Regions from separate parts of the Homo sapiens genome. Here all the other regions are linked to region 1. Evidence: promoter capture Hi-C in 16 types of primary human blood cells and fetal thymus (Javierre and others, 2016). All regions are on one chromosome and are shown on one strand. The core of a region is centred on a gene start or on the middle of the fragment in contact, and the rest is flanking DNA. Distances in the headings are between cores, read along the strand shown.

Region 1 (2,783 bases), core at 161-2,660:
GCCAGTCACTAGGCCTCTCTGGACCTCTGTCTCCTGTGAACTGAGCCTGCCCCGTAGGATTGCCAGGATCCTCTGAGCTTGGCCATGAGGTTGGCTGAGCACAGGCCCTGGCATGGAGTTGGAGCCTGGAACCCTGGTGGCTGCTATTATTGTTATTTGTTATTACTACTTTTTTGCAGAGATGGGGTCTCACTATGTTGCCCAGGCTGGTCTGGGACTCCTGGCCTCAAGTGATCCTCCAGCATCGGCCTCCCAAGATGCTGGGATTATGCGTGTGAGCCACTGCGCCAGGTCCTACTGTTATTATTATTTTATTCACTGGACCCAGAAAGGAGAAGGGACCCAGAAAGGAGAAGGGGCCTCCAGCAGCGGTGGGAGACGGGGATGGGAAGCAGGTGGGATTGTGGGAGGGAGATTGGGACCACGGTGAGCTGAAGCCAGGGAAGAGGAACAGGGACCCGCCAAAGACCTTGGGTGCTGCTGTCCAGGGTGGTTATTTTTAGAATCTGGCAACTGCCTGCCATCCCACCCCCAGCTGCTGCCCCGCCCCACCCCCACATTCCGGGGCTCGGCTTGCACCAAGTCAGCAGGCCCAAGACAGGTGGGCCAGGGTGGCTGGGAGGACACGGGTCCAGGCCTCGGGGCTCAAGGACATCCTGGGATGGCAGCCCAGACCCCCTCCCTTCAGAGGATGCCCCCCTAATCCCTGCCAGGGACACCCCAGGAGAGGGCACTGAGGCAGGGTGGTGACCCCCCCCACAAGAGACATAAGCAGAAAGCCCCAGAGCCACACACCCCCACCACCGCAGACTCCCCAGATCACACTGTAAACTAAGTCACACAGTCACACTTCCAAACTCAAGGACATGCCCAGGACACTCATGTGTCCGCTACTAAGTCAGAAACAAGGTCACAGGGACCCACACAGTAGCAAACGCAAAGAAAGCCTGCGACACCTGCTCTTGCAGACTCTGCTAGGCGACAGACACACCTCCCACGGCTTGTGGCGCCAGTGTTGGCGACAAACTGTAATGAACACAGGCCTGGCTCAACAGCCCCTTGCAGGGGGTGACAGTTGGCAGCTGTCAGGACCCCTTTCATCTCGGATCCCTCCCCATAACCCAAGACTTGTGCCGCAGAAATCACAGGTCCCAGTGGGGGGTTCAGGCAGCCTCACAGATGGAGGGGCCTCCCAGACACACAAGGGTCAACCTTCCCACGCACCGACCTGCCTTTGTATAGGAGGATGTTGGTGGAGCAAGGGGTGACACACAGACCCTTTCCCAAGCCAAGCCTCTAGCACCCACAGAAATCCCCTACTCTGGCCCCCACCCAGATTCCCGCCCCGTGCAGTACCTGGCTGGGCTGGGCTGAAGGGGGGCTGTCTGTATCCTGGAGGTGACACTGACCCAAAGGAAGGGCCAGCAGCCGTGGCCTTATATAGGGGGACCTAGGCTGTGCTATTGGCTGGGAGGGGTTGTCCCCAGGGAGGAGTTCTGGAGGGCAGCTGAGCCTCTCACCTCCCTGCTCCCGCACCATACCCACCCTGAACCCAGGCATGCTTTGCGCCCAGCCCCATGGCCTTGTATGGGCTGAGCCGCCCCAGGGGCTGGGCTCACGCCCCCCCACCAAGCTGATACCCTGACCAAGTGCTGAGTTGGGCTGGCGGTGGGGACAGCTGGCCCCCCGCCGGGAACATGGGACGGTGGCTGGGAACGTCCCAAGCACGTAGAAGCCACCGTCCCCTGGCCCCTGAGTCTCCTTCAGCCACCAGCCCTTCCTGTGGCCCTCGGCTCCCCCTGTGCCCCCTGGGCCCTCACCCCTACCCGAGTCCCAGCGGCACCTCGGGGAACCAAGGTGTGGCTCCAGGAGGAGCAGATACCCTGTGAGCTGGAGGAAGCAGAGGCCGGGAGAAGGACCAATTGCAATGGAGGGCAGTCTAACCCCAGAAACCCGCGCTTGGGCGCCCCTTCCTCCTAGGGACTGAGTGGAGGGGAAACTGAGGCTGGCTGAGTTGGAGAGATTCAAACTCAGGGCAAGGGTGGGAGGCGGTGGTCACCCTCCCCCCCACTTAACCCTCGCCCCCTCGGTGCCACTGGGAGATTTCCGCTGTGCGGGGGACAGGGAGGGTCTCGGTCGCCGGGAAAGGAGTTATTTTTAGAGGGCGCTTTGCTGTCTCCTCTGCCGCAAAGGCCGAGACCCGAGGCGCTGGGTATGGGGGGGTTCGGGGGCAGGTGTTGGAGGGGGGTTCGCCACGTGTCCTGGTTAATTATAACCGGGCGTCTCGGGTGTCCTCGGGCCTCGCCTCCTTACAAGGGCAGCCACGGGGCCCTGGGTGGCCGCTCCCACCTCCCGGGGAAGGGGGCTGGGCAGCGACGCCGTTCAGAGCGCGGGCGCCAGACTCGCGCAGATCTGGGCAGAGCAAGCGCTCTCGGCGCCTCGGCTGTGAGCAAGGACTTCCAGGGCTGAGAGGGGGGTTCTGTGGAGGAGAGTACAGTATAGAGGAAGCCGCTTTCTCCTCCTGGGACGCGCCAGGATTGCAGGCTGATCGGGTCTCCTCCTCCAGGGAGCTCCCAGGATTGCGACGAAGAAAAGAATGTCCCTTCCCTCTGAGTTCCTCCCTATCCCAGGGTCTCCTGGGTCTCCTTCACATCTTCTTAGGCAGGTGAGGACTGGCTTAGAGAAAGGGAGCCTCTGTGCCTCTCCCTCAGACTCCTGATCTGAGGGGGGAGGGGAGAGGGGTGCTTTAGAAATATTTACATGGGGCCCAGCCCTTTCCCAGC
Region 2 (2,869 bases), core at 362-2,861, 520 kb before region 1:
TAGGCGTGGTGGCGGGCACCCGTAATCCCAGCTACTCGGGAGGCTGAGGTAGGAGAATCGCTTGATTCTCGCTTGATTATCGCTTCCGCCAGGAGGTGGAAGTTGCAGTGAGCCAAGATTGTGCCACTGCACTCTAGCCTGGGCGACGGTGCAAAAACTCCGTCTCAAAAAGAAAGAAAGAAAGAAAGAAATCCCCACTGGCTCCCCAGGGCTCTAAGAACTCAAGCCAAAGTCCTCTCCGCCGCCCAAAGACCTGGGGCTGGGGATCTGACTCTTCCCCACCTCTCTGATCTCCCCTACTCCACCTCCTTTCCGGCAACATTGGACCCTTGCTGCTCTTCTAACTTGCCAGCAAGCCTCCACTCACTCGGAGCCTCTGTCTGGATCCTTCTTGCACTCAGGCATCAGCTGGGTCATTCCCATCTCCAAGAGGCCTCCCCGGCATCTTCCCTCTCCCAGGCACTTTGAAGGACATGGAACTTGCTCTGGGACATTTCCTTGTTCAGGAGCTGATCAGTCACTGCGAGCCTCGGGTTCAGTGGAGCATCAGCTCCACCAGGACAAAGATAGTTTTCTGTCTTGTTCACAGCTGTCTTCTCAGAGCGAAAAACAGGGCCTTGGCCTGGCGCGGTGGCTCATGCCTGTAATCCCAGCACTTTGGGAGGCTGAGGCAGGAGGATGGTTTAAGCCCAGGAGGTCAAGGCTGCAGTGAGCTATGGTCCCATCACTGCACTCCAGACGAGGCAACAGAGCGAGACCCTGTTTTGCTTTGTTTTGTTTTGAGACAGTTTCGCTCTTGTTGCCCAGGCTGGAGTGCAGTGGTGCAATCTTGGCTTATGGCAATCCCCACCTCCTGGGTTCAAACGATTCTCCTGCCTCAGCCTCCCAAGTAGCTGGAATTACAGGAATGTGCCACCACCCCTGGCTAATTTCGTATTTTTCATAGAGACAGGGTTTCACCATATTGGCCAGGCTGGTCTCAAACTCCTGACCTCAGGTGATCCACCCACCTCGGCCTCCCAAAGTGCTGGGATTACGGGTGTGAGCCACCGCGCGTGGCCCCTGTTTTTTCGGTTTGTTGTTGTTGTTGTTGTTGTTTTTAAAAAAGAAAGAAAAGTAAAGAAAGAGAGAGAGAAAGAAAGGGAGAGAAAGAAGGAGGGAGAGAGAAAGGAAAGAGAGAGAAATAGAAAAAGAAAGAAAGGGAGGGAGGGAAAGAGAAAAAAGAAAGAAGGAAGGAAGGAGAGAGCGAGAGAGAAAGAAGAAAGAAAGAAAAGAAAAGAAAGAAAAAGAAGAAAAAAGAAAGAGAAAAGGAAAAGAGAATAAAAGAAAGAAAGGGCCTGACCCACTGGAGAGGCTTGGGAACTGTCTGTGGGGCACACAAGTGAGCAGAAGGGTGGACACATGGATGGACAGGCGGACAGACAAACTGAAACTTCATCCTACACGAGTTAGAGGTGAGAGGGAAAAGGCAGCATGGACTAGGGACAAGGCCAAAGGTCCTGTCAGATGGTGGCCGCCACCACTGTGTCACCCCTGTCCAGGGCCTGTGAAAGGACGTCCACCCAGGCTGCAGCCTAGCAGAGACATTTCTTCATCTCCTCCCCCCAGGCACTTTTGGCCCTCCCCAGACTTCGGGCCCCTCTTCTCTTGCCAAGAATTAAGGCTGTGGCCTCAGCCGCGCAGGAAGCCACCTCCAGCCCCCAGGTGGTCTGGGACTCCCAGGTCTAAGACAAAGGGGACAGGGAAGAGGGGCAGAGGGAAAGATTGGATGCCGGGAATCAACCGCCCTCTCAAAATATCTCCATTGCAGAGACTCCTAAAGGGGAACTCCCCTCCAGCTGCGCTGGGACCCCAGGACCCTGCCCCGGCCTGAAGGCCAGGTGAGTCCATTCCCTAACCCTCCCTGGCCCACTCCACCCCACTCCACCCTCCTCCACCTGGAGGTGACCTCATCTAACCCACCCCTCTCTCCGCCTACAGGGCACCCAGATGTGCTGCTCAAGGGAGCCCCAAGGGCTGGAAGGGGGTTGTGAAACCGAAATAAACTGCCAAGCCTGGTCTGTCCTCCAGGGTGCAAAGGAAGAGTGCAGTGGCCAGCAGGGGGCAGCAGAGGGCAGCAGGCACTGGGAAAGGGCCGTCCCCAGGCCTGGTCCCCACCTGAACAACAGGAGTCCAGGCCCCAGCCCCTCCTCCCTCAGACTCAGGAGTCCATACTCCAGCCCCTCCTCCCTCAGACCCAGGAGTCCATACTGCAGCCCCTCCTCCCTCAGACCCAGGAGTCCATACTCCAGCCCCTCCTCCCTCAGACCCAGGAGTCCATACTCCAGCCCCTCCTCCCTCAGACCCAGGAGTCCATACTGCAGCCCCTCCTTCCTCAGACCCAGGAGTCCATACTCCAGCCCCTCCTCCCTCAGACCCAGGAGTCCATACTGCAGCCCCTCCTCCCTCAGACCCAGGAGTCCATACTGCAGCCCCTCCTTCCTCAGACCCAGGAATCCATACTGCAGCCCCTTCTCCCTCAGACCCAGGAGTCCAGGCCCCAGCCCCTCCTCCCTCAGACCCAGGAGTCCATACTGCAGCCCCTCCTCCCTCAGACCCAGGAGTCCATACTCCAGCCCCTCCTCCCTCAGACCCAGGAGTCCATACTGCAGCCCCTTCTCCCTCAGACCCAGGAGTCCAGGCCCCAGCCCCTCCTCCCTCAGACCCAGGAGTCCATACTGCAGCCCCTCCTCCCTCAGACCCAGGAGTCCATACTCCAGCCCCTCCTCCCTCAGACCCAGGAGTCCATACTGCAGCCCCTCCTTCCTCAGACCCAGGAGTCCATACTGCAGCCCCTTCTCCCTCAGACCCAGGAGTCCAGGCCCCAGCC
Region 3 (2,700 bases), core at 118-2,617, 610 kb before region 1:
ATAGGGGAGACATGGCCCCTATATTTTGGGAATTTCCAATCTGATGGAGGAGACATGACCCAAGCCTCTAGGGTCTTCCAGTTTGATGGGAGAGACACCTCTCAAAGTCTGGGAATTTGTAGTCTGATAGGGGAAACACAGACCCCAGCAGACACTACTGGGACCCAGAATCCACCTCCACCACCGCACAAGTCACCTCCTTCCTCAGTCTCCTTCCCAGCACCCTACATGGGGAGTGCCAGCCAGCTGGGGGGAGGCCAGCAAGGGTTGGGAAGGGGACACCATGCCAGATGCAGACCAAACTGACCCAGCCCGCTCGCTCTCTCCCCAGCTGCAGCAGTTGCCACGATGATCGTGCCCGTGCCCACCAAGCCAACGGAGGGCCAGGACGTAACACTGACCGTGCAGGGCTACCCCAAGGACCTGCTGGTCTACGCCTGGTACCGCGGGCCTGCCTCCGAGCCCAACCGGCTGCTCAGCCAGCTGCCGTCAGGAACCTGGATTGCAGGCCCCGCGCACACAGGCCGGGAGGTGGGCTTCCCCAACTGCTCGCTGTTGGTGCAGAAGCTGAACCTCACAGACACTGGCCGCTACACACTCAAGACTGTCACAGTGCAGGGCAAGACTGAGACACTGGAAGTGGAGCTGCAGGTGGCCCGTGAGTGTGTGGGAAGGGGCAAGGCGTGCCCCTTTTTAGACAAGGGCTCCCAAAAGGAGCCTTTGCTTCCTCCATCAGGCTGGGGGGACATAGACCAAAGATGGATACCCATCCCCCATCAGGCTGAAGGAAGCAGCCTTGTCTCCTCCGCCTAACTTGGGGGTCCCCAAATAGGGTTCTGCCTCTTCTATCAAACTAATGACCTACACTGTGGGTAGACAGGCCTCCTCCATCAGACTGAGGGTTGCTAAAGGGGACCCCCATGCCTTCTCTCTCAAATAAGAGGTACAGCACACTGAAGGTTTTAAAAGAGAAGGCATAGTCTGATGGTGGAGCATCCTTTTTCCTGCAGACAGGTGGACCCTAAAACATAGGGTCCATATTGGGGTAATGGGTTAATTATAGGAGTTTACCTCTCCTATCAGACTGCAGGCAGAGAATAAGGATGAATCAGGCCTCCCTATTCAGACTGGGAGATCCTGTGCAGTGGGGATCATGTCTCCTCCTTTCTATTATTGTGAGGGCAAAGTTTCTATCATCAGATGGTGGAGTTTCTCTTTCAAACTGAAATAAGGATGATTGCTCCATTAGGATGGAGGCCTGTAGGTGTGGAAGTTGTGTCTCCTCACAGAATGGAAGTTCCCAGATGTTGGGGACCATGTCTCCCCATCAGACTGGGAGCTCTTAGAAGTCAGGAACAATGTCTCCCCCATTGGATTGGGAATTCCCAAGTGTTGGAGACCATGTCACCTCCCTCAGACTGGGAGCTCTCAGATGTTGGGAACCGTGTCTCCCCATCAACTGGGAGCTTCTAGAGTCAGAAACTATGCCTCCTCCATCAGACTAGGAGCTCCCAGAGTCAAGATCCAGGTCTCCTCCATCAGACTGAGAGCTCCCAGAGTTATAGACCATGTTTCCTCCGTCAGACTGGGAGCTCCCAGAGGCAGAGACCACGTCTCCTTCATCAGACTGGGAGCTCCCAGAGGCATGGTCCATGTCTCCTCCATCAGACTGGGAGCTCCCGGAGTCAGGGACTATGTCTCCCTCGTCAGACTGGGAACTCCAGGAGTGAGGGTCCATGTCTCCTCCATCAGACTGGGAGCTCCCAGAGTCAGGGACCATGTTTCCTCCATCAGACTGGGAGCTCCCAGAGTCAGGGACCATGTCTCCTCCATCAGACTGGGAGCTCCCAGAGTCAGGGTCTATGTCTCCTCCATCAGACCGGGAGCTCCCAGAGTCAGGGACCATGTCTCCTTCATCAGACTGGGAGCTCCCAGAGTCAGGGACCATGTCTCCTTCATCAGACTGGGAGCTCCCAGAGTCAGGGACCATGTCTCCTCCATCAGACCGGGAGCTCCCAGAGTCAGGGTCTATGTCTCCTCCATCAGACCGGGAGCTCCCAGAGGCATGGTCCATGTCTCCTCCATCAGACTGGGAGCTCCCAGAGTCAGGGTCTATGTCTCCTCCATCAGACTGGGAGCTCCCAGAGTCAGGGACCATGTCTCCTCCATCAGACTGGGAGCTCCCAGAGTCAGGGACCATGTCTCCTCCATCAGACTGGGAGCTCCCAGAGTCAGGGACCATGTCTCCTCCATCAGACTGGGAGCTCCCAGAGTCAGGGAGCATGTCTCCTCCATCAGACTGGGAGCTCCCAGAGTCAGGGACCATGTCTCCTCCATCAGACTGGGAGATCCCAGAGTCAGGGTCTATGTCTCCTCCATCAGACTGGGAGCTCCCAGAGTCAGGGTCCATGTATCCTCCATCTGACTGAGCATCCCCAGAGGTCTGAGTCCATGTCCCTACAGCAGGGCCAGGTTTCCCCCATTAGCTCTCAGACACTGGGGATGAGATCATTCCCCAAGTCTGGAATCTTGCCTCCCCCAGCAGACAGAGCATTCTCAGAAGCCATGTCCCTGAGTCCGGGATGGTGCCTCCCCTATCACTGGAAATTTCCAGGATCAAGGACTCAACCACTGCCAGTCACCCACTTTCATCCAGTCACTGATCAAACCCTGGTTTTCTGGGTCAGTGTTAGGGGAGAA
Region 4 (2,879 bases), core at 1-2,500, 660 kb before region 1:
CAACATGCAAGAAGTACTGCCAATACTGCCAACCAGAGCAGCTCACTCGAGATCTTTGTGTCCAGAGTTTTTTGTTTGTCTTGAGACAGGGTCTGGCTCTGTTGGCAGACTAGAGTACAGTGGTGAGATCACAGTTCATTGCAGCCTTGACTTCTCAACGCCAAGTCATCCTCCCACCTCAGCCTCCTGAGTAGCTATGACTACAGGTATGTGCCACCACGTCTGGCTAATCTTTTTATTATTTGTAAAGTCGAGGTTTCCCTGTGTTGCCCAGGCTGGTCTTGAACTCTTGGCTCCAAGTGATACTTCTGCCTTGGCCTCCCAAAGTGCTGAATTAAGCAGCTCACCATCCACACGGCTGACCTCATACATCAAGCCAATACCGTGTGGCCCAAGACCCCCACCATAAATCACATCATTAGCATGAACCACCCAGAGTGGCCCAAGACTCCAAGATCAGCTACCAGGCAGGATATTCCAAGGGCTTAGAGATGAATGCCCAGGAGCTGAGGATAAAGGGCCCGATCTTTCTTTGGGCAAGGTTAAGCCTTTACTGCATAGCAGACCACACAGAAGGGTGTGGGCCACCAGAGAATTTTGGTAAAAATTTGGCCTCTGGCCTTGAGCTTCTAAATCTCTGTATCCGTCAGATCTCTGTGGTTACAAGAAACAGCCACTGACCCTGGTCACCAGAGGCTGCAATTCAGGCCGCAAGCAGCTGCCTGGGGGGTGTCCAAGGAGCAGAGAAAACTACTAGATGTGAACTTGAAGAAGGTTGTCAGCTGCAGCCACTTTCTGCCAGCATCTGCAGCCACTTTCTGCCAGCATCTGCAGCCAGCAAGCTGGGACTGGCAGGAAATAACCCACAAAAGAAGCAAATGCAATTTCCAACACAAGGGGGAAGGGATGCAGGGGGAGGCAGCGCTGCAGTTGCTCAGGACACGCTCCTATAGGACCAAGATGGATGCGACCCAAGACCCAGGAGGCCCAGCTGCTCAGTGCAACTGACAAGTTAAAAAGGTCTATGATCTTGAGGGCAGACAGCAGAATTCCTCTTATAAAGAAAACTGTTTGGGAAAATACGTTGAGGGAGAGAAGACCTTGGGCCAAGATGCTAAATGGGAATGCAAAGCTTGAGCTGCTCTGCAAGAGAAAATAAGCAGGACAGAGGATTTGCTCTGGACAGAGATGGAAGAGCCGGGAACAGAGAAGTGTGGGGAAGAGATAGGAACCAGCAGGATGGCAGGGGCAAAGGGCTCAAGGGTGAGGAGGCCAGTGGGACCCCACAGAGTTGGGGAGATAAAGGAACATTGGTTGCTTTGGTGGCACGTAAGCTCCTTGTCTGTCTCCAGCACCCAGAATCTCATTAAAGCTTATTTATTGTACCTCCAGCGGCTGTGTGCAATGGGGTCTTTTGTGGAAATCAAGGAGCAGACAGGTTTCATGTGTACTGTCACCACGTGGGATGGAACCAGAGGCATGGAAGCAAGACGCTAAATGAAGAGGGCCATAAGGGCTGGGATTCCCAGGCACCTTAGGAACAGCTTGTCTTTTTTTTTTTCCTCTCCAAAAAAAATGTTTAAGGGACGGTGTCTCCTGTCACCCAGGCTGGAGTGCAATGGCACGATCATAGCTCATTGCAGCCTCTAACTCCGGGGCTCAAGCAATCCTCCCACCTCAGCCTACCAAGTAGCTGTGACCACAGCTGCCCCTCACCATGCTAAGCTAATTTTTTTAATTAGATAGTACATAAACGTCCCAAAATTAGAAGATAAAAAGACATGAGGGATCCATTCTAATTTGTGTTTGGAGTGTAATGGTCCAGCTCCATTCTTCTGCACATGGATATCCAGTTTTACACAACACTGTGAATGTAATGAATGCCACTGAATCATACACTCAAAAATAGCTAAAATGGCAAATTGTCTGTTATCTCTTTTTAACCACCATTTTTGAAAATTAATTATACCAAAAAACCATTGAATAGTGCACTTTATTTATTTATTTATTTGTTTATTTATTTATTTATTTTAGAAATAAGAGTCTCACTTTGTTGCCCAGGCTGGAGTGCAGTGGCGTGATCATGGCTCATTGCAGCCTCGACCTGCTGGGCTCGGGCTATCCTTCCATCTCAGCCTCCCGAGTAGCTGGGACTATAGGTGGGCGCCACCCCACCTGGCTAAATCTCTTTTTAACTTTTGTAGAGATAGGCATCTCGCTATGTTGCCTAGGCTGGGCTGGAACTCCTGGGCTCAAGTGCTCCTCCTGCCTTGGCCTCCCAAAGCGCTAGGATTACAGATGTGAGCCACCGCGCCCACCCTGAACCTTACTTTTTTTGCTCAGTTTCTGGTAATTCAGAGAATGCCTCCTGAGTTGTTCTACACCCACCTCATATTCCATGGGAGGGCTGTACAGGGCTTTTTTAACGAGGCCTCTAAGGACAGGCATTTGTATCCTTTCCAGCCTTTCACTATTACAATGTTGTAGTGAATAACTTTACACACTGTCATTTATTTTACTTTTTTTTTTTTTTATTTTAGAGAAAGGAATCTTGCCATCTTGCCCAGGCTGGTCTCAAATTCCTGGGCCCAAACAATCCTCCCGCCTTGGCCTCCTAAAGTACTGGGATTTATAGGCATAAGCCACCGTGCCTGGCCAATGCACACTGTCATTTAGCTCATGTTAACACCTGAGTGTAGGACACACTCCTGGAGGTGGAATTGCTGGGCCAAAGAGTATGTTTCTTGTCATTGTGATAGATATTGACAAATGAACCCTCACAGAAGTTGTGCTGAGTTCTGTTCCCACCAGCGACGTAGGCGATGACCTTTTTCTGGAGGGAGGGGGCATCCTTGGAGTCCACAGAGCCAGGAATGGAG

The links. The method cuts DNA at HindIII sites, captures the fragments that hold promoters and counts their contacts. A CHiCAGO score of 5 or more calls a contact.
Region 2: a fragment that was not itself captured here is called in contact with the fragment with the promoter of CKM in region 1 in 1 of 17 cell types (total CD4 T cells); the score reaches 5.0 in total CD4 T cells.
Region 3: a contact is called between a fragment that was not itself captured here and the fragment with the promoter of CKM in region 1, in 2 of 17 cell types (total B cells and erythroblasts). The highest score is 5.9, in total B cells.
Region 4: a contact is called between a fragment that was not itself captured here and the fragment with the promoter of CKM in region 1, in 2 of 17 cell types (total B cells and total CD4 T cells). The highest score is 5.7, in total B cells.

What each region holds. Positions count from the first base shown.
Region 1 is chr19:45,321,465-45,324,247 of GRCh38, forward strand. It overlaps CKM (creatine kinase, M-type), which reads right to left and starts at 1,411. Exons shown (of 8, transcript NM_001824.5): 1 at 1,357-1,411. RefSeq lists an enhancer at 2,135-2,377. The HindIII fragment of the contact is 13,711 bases long and covers 1-2,783 here.
Region 2 is chr19:44,798,571-44,801,439 of GRCh38, forward strand. CBLC (Cbl proto-oncogene C) reads left to right here. Exons shown (of 11, transcript NM_012116.4): 10 at 1,811-1,880; 11 at 1,981-2,082. The coding sequence ends at 1,873. Among named protein-coding and RNA genes, the nearest start is that of BCAM, 9.1 kb to the right of the region's middle. RefSeq lists an enhancer at 1,868-1,917. The HindIII fragment of the contact is 9,209 bases long and covers 1-2,869 here.
Region 3 is chr19:44,707,530-44,710,229 of GRCh38, forward strand. CEACAM16 (CEA cell adhesion molecule 16, tectorial membrane component) reads left to right here. Exons shown (of 7, transcript NM_001039213.4): 6 at 332-658. All of the region lies in intron 1 of CEACAM16-AS1 (CEACAM16, CEACAM19 and PVR antisense RNA 1), which reads right to left. Among named protein-coding and RNA genes, the nearest start is that of CEACAM16, 9.7 kb to the left of the region's middle. The HindIII fragment of the contact is 7,361 bases long and covers 1-2,700 here.
Region 4 is chr19:44,662,193-44,665,071 of GRCh38, forward strand. It overlaps PVR (PVR cell adhesion molecule), which reads left to right. Exons shown (of 8, transcript NM_006505.5): 8 at 1-2,879. Among named protein-coding and RNA genes, the nearest start is that of CEACAM19, 7.8 kb to the right of the region's middle. The HindIII fragment of the contact is 240 bases long and covers 1,131-1,370 here.